4 separate regions of the Homo sapiens genome follow, and regions 1, 3 and 4 are each linked to region 2. The links are contacts of gene promoters, found by promoter capture Hi-C in blood cells and fetal thymus (Javierre and others, 2016). All regions are on one chromosome and are shown on one strand. The core of a region is centred on a gene start or on the middle of the fragment in contact, and the rest is flanking DNA. Distances in the headings are between cores, read along the strand shown. Region 1 has its middle 30 kb from the start of TMEM65. Region 2 holds the start of FER1L6 (fer-1 like family member 6). Region 3 has its middle 8.7 kb from the start of TYW2. Region 4 has its middle 2.7 kb from the start of TMEM65.

Region 1 (2,700 bases), core at 74-2,573, 550 kb before region 2:
TGGCACGATCTCATCTTACTGCAACCTCCGTCTCCTGGATTCAAGCAATTCTCCTGCCTCAGCCTCTCGAGTAGATGGGATTACAGGCGTACACCACCATACCTGGCTAATTTTTTTTTTTTTTTGAGACAGAGACTCCCTCTGTTGCCCAGGCTGGAGTGCAGTGGCGCGACCTCAGCTCACTGCAAACTCCACCTCCTGGGTTCAAGCGATTCTCCTGCCTCAGCCTCCCAAGTGGCTGGGATTACAGGCATGTGCCAGCACACCCAGCTAATTTTTGTATTTTCAGTAGAGACGGGGTTTCAACATGTTGGCCAGGCTGCTCTTGAACTCCTGACCTCAGGTGATCCACCCGCCTCAGCCTCCCAAAGTACTGGCAATACAGACATGAGCCACCACGCTGTCATTGGTCTTAATGGACCTCGTATTTAGTGCATTTATGTTACAGAACTTTTCCTCAAATGATATATTTTCTAATGCTTCAGGGACAACATTGCATGAACAAATTATTTTGGATGATTAAGAAGGGTAGTGAGAATAGGAAATTCAAACTGGAGCATAATAAAGTCATTAGACATGGAGCTAGTCAGGCAACAGATAATTTATTGAGGGAAGTTGCTACTGGAGCTATGAAGAGGATAAACAGATTTTTGATTTTGAGAAAACTTGAAACTCATGCAGAAAGGTTGCAATGACTCATTGTCTCTCAGCTGTAAAAATATGTCAATGCTTGAATTTGTTGGGCTTTTGAGGAGAAAAAGCTTTGAACTCTGGAGCCATAGAGACCAGAGGTTTGAATCCTGTCCATCATTTATTAGTTGTGTGACCTTGGGCAAATTACTGAATATGTCTGCACCTTTAGTTTTTATCTAAAAAATGGGGATTAAAAATAGTTCCTCCCTGATAGAGTTATTAATGAAGATAAAGAGACATTATCTGTATTGAGGGTTTAAAACTGTAACTGAATCATGGTAAGCACTCAATAATGGTGAGTTATAATCACTGTTATTACTGTTAAATATTATCTATAAATTGGAGACACCAAAAGCCACTTTTCAAGGCTAACAGAATAAGTGAGATGAAGAATACAAAATACCTAGCACAGTATATGCCATGCATGGAATTCTAACTGTTAGCTATTTCTCTGAAATTGATCAGCAAATCTAATTATCTAATCATTTAACTGAGAAGTGATAGAGCAATTGAGAAGTAGTAGAGGGAAAAAGTAGAGCTCTCCCTCTCTTGAACCACTTACTGATTAATGGTAGCCTTTGAAAGTCTTTCCGGGCTGGGTGTGGTGGCTCACGCCTGTAATCCTAGCGCTTTGGGAGGCCAAGGAGGGTGGATTGTCTGAGCTCAGGAGTTCGAGACCAGCCTGGGCAACATGGTGAAACCCCATCTCTACTAAAATACAAAAAATTAGCCAGGCATGGTGGTGTGTACTTGTAACCCCAGCTACTCGGGAGGCTGAGACACAAGAATTACTTGAACCCAGGAGGTGGAGGTTCAGTGAGCCAAGATTGTGCCACTGCACTCCAGCCTGGGCAACAGAGCCAGACTCTGTCTCAAAAAAAAAAAAAAAAAAAAAAAAAAAAAAGGCTTTCCAAATGGTAAAGCAGAGACTCTGATGGAAATAGCTTCAGGATTGAGGAGTCCTGAGGTGTCTGAAGAGATGAGGAAGATTCAAGCAAGCACAACTTCAATTAGCCACATTCTTTTTGAGAGCCTACATCTGTTCTCTACCTTCAGCTCAAAGTGTTATGAGCCTTTCAACAAATAACCCTCATTTTTTTCATAATAAGAACTCTGCAGCTCTCTTTAATTCCAAAGCTAATGTTCTTGGCAACTTTGTAATAGAGATGTAACCACTCAAAATAAAGCTTTCACTTATTGAATTTATATGATGTACTCCAGGCATTATGAAAAACTCTTCATATACATTATCTAATTTAAGTACAGTCATGTGCCACACAATGACATTCCAGTCAACAATGGACCACATATATATGTGCTGGTGGTCCTGAAAGATTATAATCTTTATCATCTAACCTATAAGCTGAAAAATTCTTATTGCCTGGTGATGTTGCAGACATTGTAACCTCACAGCACGAAGCATTACTCATGTGTTTGTAGTGATGCTGGTATAAACAAAGCTACTGCACTGCCAGTCATAGAAAAGTATAGCACATAGAGTTGTAACCACCCAAGGGGTTCACCTTGCCTCCTGCCTAGACAGAGCCAATTCATCAAGACAGGGGAATTGCAATAGAGAAAGAGTAATTCACACAGAGCTGGCTATGCGGGAGACCAGTTTTATTATTACTCAAGTCAGTCTCTCAAGCATTTATTTGGGGAGCAGAGGTTTTATTTTATTTTTATTTTTTTGAGACAAAGTATTGCTCTTTCCCCAGGCTGGAGTGCAGTGGTGCGATCTTGGCTCACTGCAACCTCTGCCTCCTGGGTTCAAGTGATTCTCCTGCCTCAGCCTCCCAAGTAGCTGGGAGTACATGCCTGCCAACACGCCCAGCTAATTTTTGTATTTTTAGTAGAGGTGAAGTTTCACCACGTTGGCCAGGATGGTCTTGATCACTTGACCTCGTGATCCGCCCGCCTCGGCCTCCCAAAGTCCTGGGATTACAGGCGTGAGCCACTGCACCTGCCCTACAGAGCAGAGTTTTTAAGCATGATTTGGTGGGTGGG
Region 2 (2,700 bases), core at 96-2,595:
AATACAGAAATTAGCCGGGTGTGATGGCAAGCACCTGTAATCCCAGCTATTCTGGAGCCTGAGGCACGAGACTCACTTGAACCTGGGAGGTGGCGGCTGCAGTGAGCCAAGATTGTACCACTGCACTCCAGCCTGGGCTATAGAGTGAGACTGTCTCAAAAAAAGATTTCGTCTATTTTAAAGTCTGAGGGTGGGCACAGTGGCTCACGCACGTAATCCGAGCACTTTGGAAGGCTGAGGCAGGAGGATCGCTTGAGCCCAGGAGTTTGAGACCAACCTGAGCAACATAGCGAGGCCCCGTCTCTACAAAAATAAGAATAAAATTGATCTGATAGGTAGCTAAATAGACACATAGAATACATCTATATCTAATACATATTTCATATATGATATATGATATATAACCTTAGGGATGATTACATTTGCCTCAAAATCCATCTCCAAAAATTACAATGTGGGATTCTGGACTGGCTCCTAGAACAGAAAAAGACATTCGTGGAAAAACTTGTGAAATCCAAATAAAGCGTGGAGCTTAGTTAATAGTAATGCTGCATTTTCAGTTTCTTCATTTTCATAAATGTACCATGGTAATATAAGATGTTACCATTAGGGAAAACTGAGTGAGAAATTTAAGAGAACTCAATTATCTTTGCAACTTTTCTGTAAAATAAAAATTTATGTTTTAAAAGTCTAACAATCTTGTGAGAGGCCCCACATTTTCTATGAGTTCCTGAGGCAACTTCCTCATGCTTTTTGTCTCTATAATCCCCCAAAATTTTACCAGTCTCTCTTCTTTCTCCTCCCTCTGTCTCTGTCAAACACACACACACACACACACACACACACACACACACACACACGCATGCTCACAACATGGAGTTCAAGCAACAAGGTCAACCTGGCTACAGCGACCACTGAGTACCCAATCTGCCAACAGCAGAGACCAATGCTGAGTCCCCAATATATGGCACCATTCCCTGGGGTGACCAGCCAGCTACCTGGAGGCAGGTTGATTACATTGGACTGCTTCCATTGTGGAAGGGAGGGGAAGCATTTTGTCCTTACTGGAATACACATTTGCTCTGGATATGAACTTGCCTTCCCTGCACACAATGCTTCTGTAGAATCTATTATCTATGGACTTACAAAATGCCTTGTCCACCTTCACGATGGTCCACACAGCATTGCTCTGATCAAGGGACTCACTTCACAGCAAATGAAGCGCAGCAGTGGGTTCGTGCTCGTGGAATTCACTGGTCTCACGGTGTTCCCAACCGTTCTAAAGCAGCTGGCTTGACGGAATGGTGGAATGGCCTTTTGAAGTCAGTTACAGGCAACCTCACCAACTAGGTGACAGTACTTTACAGAAGTGGGGCAAGATTCCACAGAAAGCTGTGTATTCTTTGAATCAGCATCCAGTCAGGTGCTAGTCAGGACTCATGGGTCCAGAGATCAAGGGGTAAAAATGGGATGGCACCACTTGCTATTACCCCTAATGACTCACTAGCAAAATTTTTGCCTCTTGTTCCTTTATTATCCTGTTAGCCTAGAGATCTTAGTTCCAAAAAAGAATGCTTCCACTAGCAGATACAACAGTGATTCCATTGCACTGAAAGTTAAGGCCACAGCCAGCCACTTTGGGCTCCTCATACCTCTGAATTGACAGGCAAAGTTTTGGTGTTGTCTAGGGCGACTGATCCTGACTACCAAGGGGAAAATGTGCTACTATTCCACAATGGAGGCAAGAAAGAATATGTCTGGAATACAGGAGATCCCTTAGGGCATCTCTTAGTATTACCATACCCTGTGATTAAAATTTGTGATTAAATTCATGGAAAACTACAATAATCCAATTCACGCAGGACTACTAATGGCCCAGACCCTTCAGGAATGAAGGTTTGGGTCATCCTACCAGGTAAAGAACCTCAACCAGCTGAAAGGTTTGCCAAGTACAAAGGGAATTCAGAATGGGTAGCAGAAGGTAGTTCTAAGTATCAGGTACAACCATGTGCCCAGTTACAGAAATGAGGACTGTTATTGTCATGAGTTTATTTTGTGGTGAACATATTTGTGTACATATATGTACATTGCCTCACACAGAACATTTCGTGACTCTAGAAATTCCCTGGAGATTTGGTGGAGGTTCCAGCGCCCAGTAGACCTACAGCCATCACCATTCCCTCTCCCCTCCTGCTCCCCCGGGGAAATGATCGACATTTCTTGCACTTTCTTATTAAGAATTGTTATGCAAAAACACAAGTTCCCCAAACCTTTTCTTCTAGCACACACTTCCTGGGGGTACTTTAGCAAACAGAAGAATTCCAGGGCCAGTTGAGAACACAAGTATGTTCATAGCGGCTATATTCATAATACGCAAAAGTTGAAAACAACCTAAATATCCAACAGCCATAAAAAGGATAACTAAATTTCAGTATATTTTCACAATGGAATATCACACAGAAACAAAAAAAAACTATGACCATGAGCAACAACATGAACTAGTCTCACAAACTGATGAGGGAAGGAACCAGACACAAGAGTACAAATTGTATCATTCCACATATATGAAACTCAAAGATACACAAAAGGTGATAAAAGTCAAAATAATGGTTGCCTCGGCTGGGCACGGTGGCTCACACCTGTAATACCAGCACTTTGGGAGGCTGAGTTAGATCATGAGGTCAGGAGTTCAAGACCAGC
Region 3 (2,754 bases), core at 133-2,632, 590 kb before region 2:
TCTCGAGGGCTATATTACTGTCAGAGGTGGCTGTAATGGATGTCAAGTGGCAAGTTGAATCTGTATTCCAACATACAGCTACAGCTTTCAATACTACACAGCATGCCATTATCCTACTAACTGAAGAGACTTCTCAAATTAGACAGGTAGCCTTACGAAACTGCATGGCTTTGGACATTTTAACAGCGGCTCAAGGGAGATCTTGTGCTATCATCAAAATGGAATGTTGTTTGTATATTCCATAATATTAACATAATATTACTCAGGCCATGAAGGACTTAGACACCCATATCTCTGCCATTAACACACTGTCAGTTGACCCCATATCAGGGTGGTTCCAGCAATTGTCTGGTTCATGGAAAACCTTTTTGTTCAGATGCTTGGAACAGATTCTGTTTTGTTGCTGTGGAATGTATTGCTGTTGTAATTTTTGTGCAAGAAAACAAGGTAAACCTAGCCAGGCACAGTGGCTCACACCAGTAATCCCAGCACTTTGGGAAGCCGAGGCAAGCGGATCACCTGAGGTCAGGAGTTTTAAGACCAGCCTGGCCAACGTAGTGAAACTCCATCTCTACTAAAAATACAAAATTAGCAGGGCATAGTGGGACACAGCTGTAATCCCAGCTACTCAAGAGGCTGAGGCAGGAGACTCGCTTGAACCTGGGAGGCGGAGGTTGCAGTGAGCCGAGATCATGCCATTGCACTCCAGCCTGTGCAACAAGAGCAAAATGCCGTCAAAAAAAAAAAAAAAAAAAAAAAAAGAAAAGAAAAGAAAACAAGGTAAACCTATTAAATAGCTTCTTTAAATTGAACACTTACTAATTTTCCAGATTTCACCTTTTGTTGAAAGTCACAATAATGATTGGTCCTCACCACGCCAACACTTGCTGAGTGAACTCCTCTCCAATCTAAATACAAGGGATCCCAGTGGTTAGGGAGGAATATCATTGCTCCTGTTCACCTTGAAGACATTTATGAAGATGGACCTCTGTCCCTCTGTACCCCTTAGAATTAAGGATCCCCTTATAAAAGGGAGGAGGAAAATATATCAGAGGTGTCCAAACCAGAGTGACTCCGTCTTGAATAAGGCCAAATGAAGTGAAACCTGCTGGATTCCATTCCCAGGAAGCTAGGCACTCTCCTTCACAGGACCTTTATGGTTGAGAGAATGAGTTAATGATAAGTAAACAAGACCCAGAACTTAACAGAAAGTCTTGAAGTCCTGATATCTCAAGACCAAAAAGTATTCTTAGTCTAAGAATAGGCTTCTTATATTAATAGATAATAGGTTTCTTATACTAATAGGTAATAGTATATCCCTAAATTCCTGCTGAACTCAATAGTTACACAAGAGGATAACATCAGCCTGTCACAAGCTGGTCACAAGCCTTTATAATAAAGCACATAAGTTCATTATTATTCTTAGCTTGCTTTCTTCTTCTTGTTTTTTTTTTTTTTTTTTTTTTTTGAGACAGAGTCTCGCTTTGTTACCCAGGCTGTAGTGCAGTGGCATGATCTCTGTTCACTGCAACCTCTGCCTCCCAGGTTCAAATGATTCTTCTGCCTCAGCCTCCTTAGTAGCTGGGATTATGGGTGCACGCCACCACACCTGGCTAATATTTTATATTTTTGATGGAGACAGGGTTTCACCGTGTTGGCCAGGCTGGCCTTGAACTCCTGACCTCAAGTGATCCAGCCTCCCTGGCCTCCCAAAGTGTTGGGATTACAGGTGTGAGCCACCATGCCTGGCCAGCTCCCTTATTATATAGCATTTTATTTGTGTTCAGAGTCCTACTCTTGCTTTTTTTTTTCTTTTCCTTTTTTTTTTCTTTCAAGACAAGCCTTATCTGTCACCCAGGCAGGAGTGCAGTGGCACAATAATGGCTCACTGCAGCGTTGACATCCCAGACTCATGAGATCCTACTGCCTAGTCTCTCTAGCAGTTGGGACTGCAGGTATGCTACCATGCAGGGCAAATTTTTTTTATTTTTAGTAGAGATGGAGTCTCATTATGTTGTCCAGGCTGGTCTTGAACACCTGGTCTCAAGCAGTTGTCACACCTCATCTTCCAAAGTGCTGGGATTATAGGTGTGAGCTACGGTGCCTGGCCTCCTCTTGTTGTTAGTTCTGAGGATGCCCTACTCTGTAATAGAGTAGTCTTTAATAAACTTGCTTTTTTCACTGTGCTCTGTGACTGGCCCAGAATTCTTTCCTGTCAGAGATCCAAGAACTCACTCTGTGGTCTGGCTCCAGACCCCTTTCCTGTAACAGTTTGAGCAATAAAAGTAGCCCGGGCTGGTACCAAGCACCAAAGTCAGATTTCTCAACAGTCAGGACCACCTCCACTCAGAGTCCCTTCTGTTGGATGCCAATTTGTCAACCAAAATATGTCTGACACAAGTCTCAGTCAATTTAGAAGTTTGTAAAGTTTAGAAGCCAATGTAAGGCACACGCCAGAAGAAGGGAATATAGAAACCACAGAAACAGTCTGCGATCTGTGCCTTTCTCCAAAGATGATTTTGTGGGCTTCAATATCTAAAGGGGAAAAGCAGGCTGGAAAGAGGGAAGGTCCAGTCACATCACAGAATCCACATGTTGCAAGAGACAAGGAACAGGTAGGGGAATAGTCAGTTATGTATTTGTCTCATGCTCAGTAAATCGGCACTTGATAAGATAAGGTGGACAACCAGCAGCTGGAGATATCTGGCCTTTTATCTGTAGCATCTGCTTAGGAACAAAAGAAAAGGCAGCTTC
Region 4 (2,700 bases), core at 112-2,611, 520 kb before region 2:
CCCTGCCAGCAACAGGGAAGCCAGGAACTCTGGAGCGTATTTATATGATGCAGCTTACCATGGACTGATGATTCAGCAGCAATTTTTCATGAGGAGGAAACTGTGATTGTTAACCGAGGTATGACAGTTGTCCTCTTTAAAAGCGAAGAACAGGCTGGGCTGAACTCAGGCCAAGTTTGCCTTCTGGGCTTTCCTTCCTTCTATCTTCCATTTCTGTAGCCCCTCCAGCCTGCTAGCATTTCCTCTTCAGCACCATCATATTTCTTCGGAAACTCCCCTTTGCCACCTGCATCTAGACCTGCTCCACAGCCCCATAAACGATCCCCAAATTATCTCCCTCCCTAGATCCTTCATCCATTCATATTTAGGATATTCAGGTGTTCAGAGAAGGAAGTGGTTAGGGGATGCAGTTAATACACATCCATGTATTAAATGACAGATAGCTAGGTGGGCATTTCTCAAATGAGGGTCCAAAGACATAATCGTAGAGATTTGAGAGGTCCGTGGGCATTTAGATAATAATAGCTAGTATTTATTGCATGCTTGTCATGTATCAGGTGCTGTTTGAAATGCTTTACATGTATTATTTGGTTTCACTATAACATTACAAAGCAGATGCCCTTATCTATATTTAACAGGTGAGCAAACTGAACATGTTCTTATTCCCATTAAACAGATGGGCAACCACGGAAAGGTTGATCAGCTCAAGGTTACACAGCTAAGAAATGACAGTATAAGGACTCAAATCCAGGCAGTCTGAGTCTAGAGCTAGTGCTCTCAACCCCAATGCTGTCATCTGGGGCTCAATTGAGCCTGGATGGTCCAAGATGCTGTCATGCATGTTTGGCAGTTAGCTGGGGCTGTTGGCTACGGCCTCCTCCTCCATTTGGTCTTTCCAGCAGGATACATCAGACTTCTTTATGCAGCAGCTGGATTCCAAAAGGTAAATGTCTTCGAGGCAATTTTTCCATGTGGAAAATTACCTTGATGCAATGGCAGCCTCCATGTATACACCTACAGGTCACGAAATAGATAGGCTTATAGGCCAAATTAAGAAGCTTAAATCACATTATCTGGTGGTTCTAAAACGTATCCTCAAAGGTTTTGGCATTACTCCTATTAAGATGTGGGGTTTATATCCCTTTCCCTTGAATAGGGGCTGGCCCTAGGGGTTGGCTTATAGCCAGTAGAATACAGTGGAAGTGATACTGTGTGACTTCCAAGGATAGGTCAGAAAACGCCACAAGCCTGCTTCTTTTTAGACATTCACTCTGGGGAAAGCCAGCTGTCTGGTGAGAAGATCACCATGCTGGAGTGGCTGTGTGAAAGTGCTCTGGTTCTCAGCCCCATTTGAGCTACCAGTCAGCCATGTCAGTGAGCCATCTTAGCTATTCAGCCCAGCTGAACTTTCAAATGACAGCAGTTGTGTTGAAATCTGATTGATACTACATAAACGACTCCAATAAAATAACTGTCCAAGTAAGTTCTTCCCCAATTTCTGAGCCTCAAAATTAAGAGCAAAATAAATTGGCTAATTAAACTACTAAGTTTTGGCATAATGTGTCTACCCAAAGAGCAGCAATAATAACCAGAAGAGTTTACCAACCAACATAAAACAGAGTGAGAAGCAAGGGGAAAGAGATAGGGTAGATTAATAAGCTTAGGATAGGCTGAAGGACCATAGCACCTAAATTCTGTTTTATGCAATGTTCTCATGTCTTATCCCTCTCCACCATCCAGTCTTCTCAGCACATAGTGTGGCTACAAGGACCAGACTGGAGAGTAAGTAAGGTGACTCAACAGACTGAAGGGGCCTGGGCTCAACATATGTCTGTTCTGTTACAGAGCTGAGGGGCAAGTGTGTCTGGTTATAATGGTAGCTGGCATTAGTTGGCTTTGTAGCTGGGGGTTTATCTGCTTTTCTTGGGAAGAGATTACATGAGGCCATAATAGCGTTACAATGGGTGTTACCAGTAGGTATGCAATTTAGGGATGACATGGCTGTAAATCTGAAGATAGTATGATCTGTACCTTATTAATACTTAAAAGTCCACTTTGTCTTTCTGCCTCTATCTAAAGCAGCATTTTCATTTGTTCCATCCTTTTTATCTATGTTCAACCCATATCCATTCATTCTATGTGTAACCTTTCTCATAAGTGACTTGCTTCTACATTTTAGTTTCTCTTGTTTTATAATAGAATTAAATATTCTATAGTAATATAGCAAAAGCATTACAGCAAACCCCAATGAGCAAACATGTATCATATCACGTTTATGATGTCCTCCTATTTATTGACCAAAACAAGTCAAATAGCCAAGCCCACAGTCAATGTAGAGGTGGACCACACAACGGAGCGGATAATAGAAGGTGTAGTTCATTGGGGATCACTACTATAACAATCTAATACTAACACATAGTTAGGAGACGGTTGATCCAGGGATCGAACTTTCCACAGTCTGTCTCTGGAGGCTACACACTAAACTACTATTCTGGAGGTGGTTGGGAATGGGTTCTTACTGAAGAACTTTTTTCAAACCTCACTTCCCAGGTCTGGGGCCTGTGATCCACCCCAGTGAATCAGAATATCTTGGGGGTAGGAAATTGTGGGGGGGATGGGGTGGTACTCCCATGAGCCTGAGACTGAAATAGCTCTGCAGAGGATTCCAGTGCACACTAGGGAATGAAGGGGGTTTCAAAG

Evidence for each region. Contacts are between HindIII fragments. The CHiCAGO score rates a contact against its expected background, and 5 or more counts as called.
Region 1: a fragment that was not itself captured here is called in contact with the fragment with the promoter of FER1L6 in region 2 in 10 of 17 cell types (fetal thymus, M0 macrophages, total CD4 T cells and 7 more); the score reaches 8.8 in fetal thymus.
Region 3: a contact is called between a fragment that was not itself captured here and the fragment with the promoter of FER1L6 in region 2, in 1 of 17 cell types (M1 macrophages). The highest score is 5.8, in M1 macrophages.
Region 4: a contact is called between a fragment that was not itself captured here and the fragment with the promoter of FER1L6 in region 2, in 1 of 17 cell types (M2 macrophages). The highest score is 9.1, in M2 macrophages.

The regions. Positions count from the first base shown.
Region 1 is chr8:124,401,444-124,404,143 of GRCh38, reverse strand. No RefSeq gene overlaps it. Among named protein-coding and RNA genes, the nearest start is that of TMEM65, 30 kb to the right of the region's middle. The HindIII fragment of the contact is 1,119 bases long and covers 764-1,882 here.
Region 2 is chr8:123,850,632-123,853,331 of GRCh38, reverse strand. It overlaps FER1L6 (fer-1 like family member 6), which reads right to left and starts at 1,345. Exons shown (of 41, transcript NM_001039112.2): 1 at 1,147-1,345. RefSeq lists a silencer at 1,633-1,781. The HindIII fragment of the contact is 9,737 bases long and covers 1-2,700 here.
Region 3 is chr8:124,440,750-124,443,503 of GRCh38, reverse strand. No RefSeq gene overlaps it. Among named protein-coding and RNA genes, the nearest start is that of TYW2, 8.7 kb to the left of the region's middle. RefSeq lists an enhancer at 2,675-2,754. The HindIII fragment of the contact is 6,278 bases long and covers 1-2,754 here.
Region 4 is chr8:124,374,010-124,376,709 of GRCh38, reverse strand. No RefSeq gene overlaps it. Among named protein-coding and RNA genes, the nearest start is that of TMEM65, 2.7 kb to the right of the region's middle. The HindIII fragment of the contact is 601 bases long and covers 1,061-1,661 here.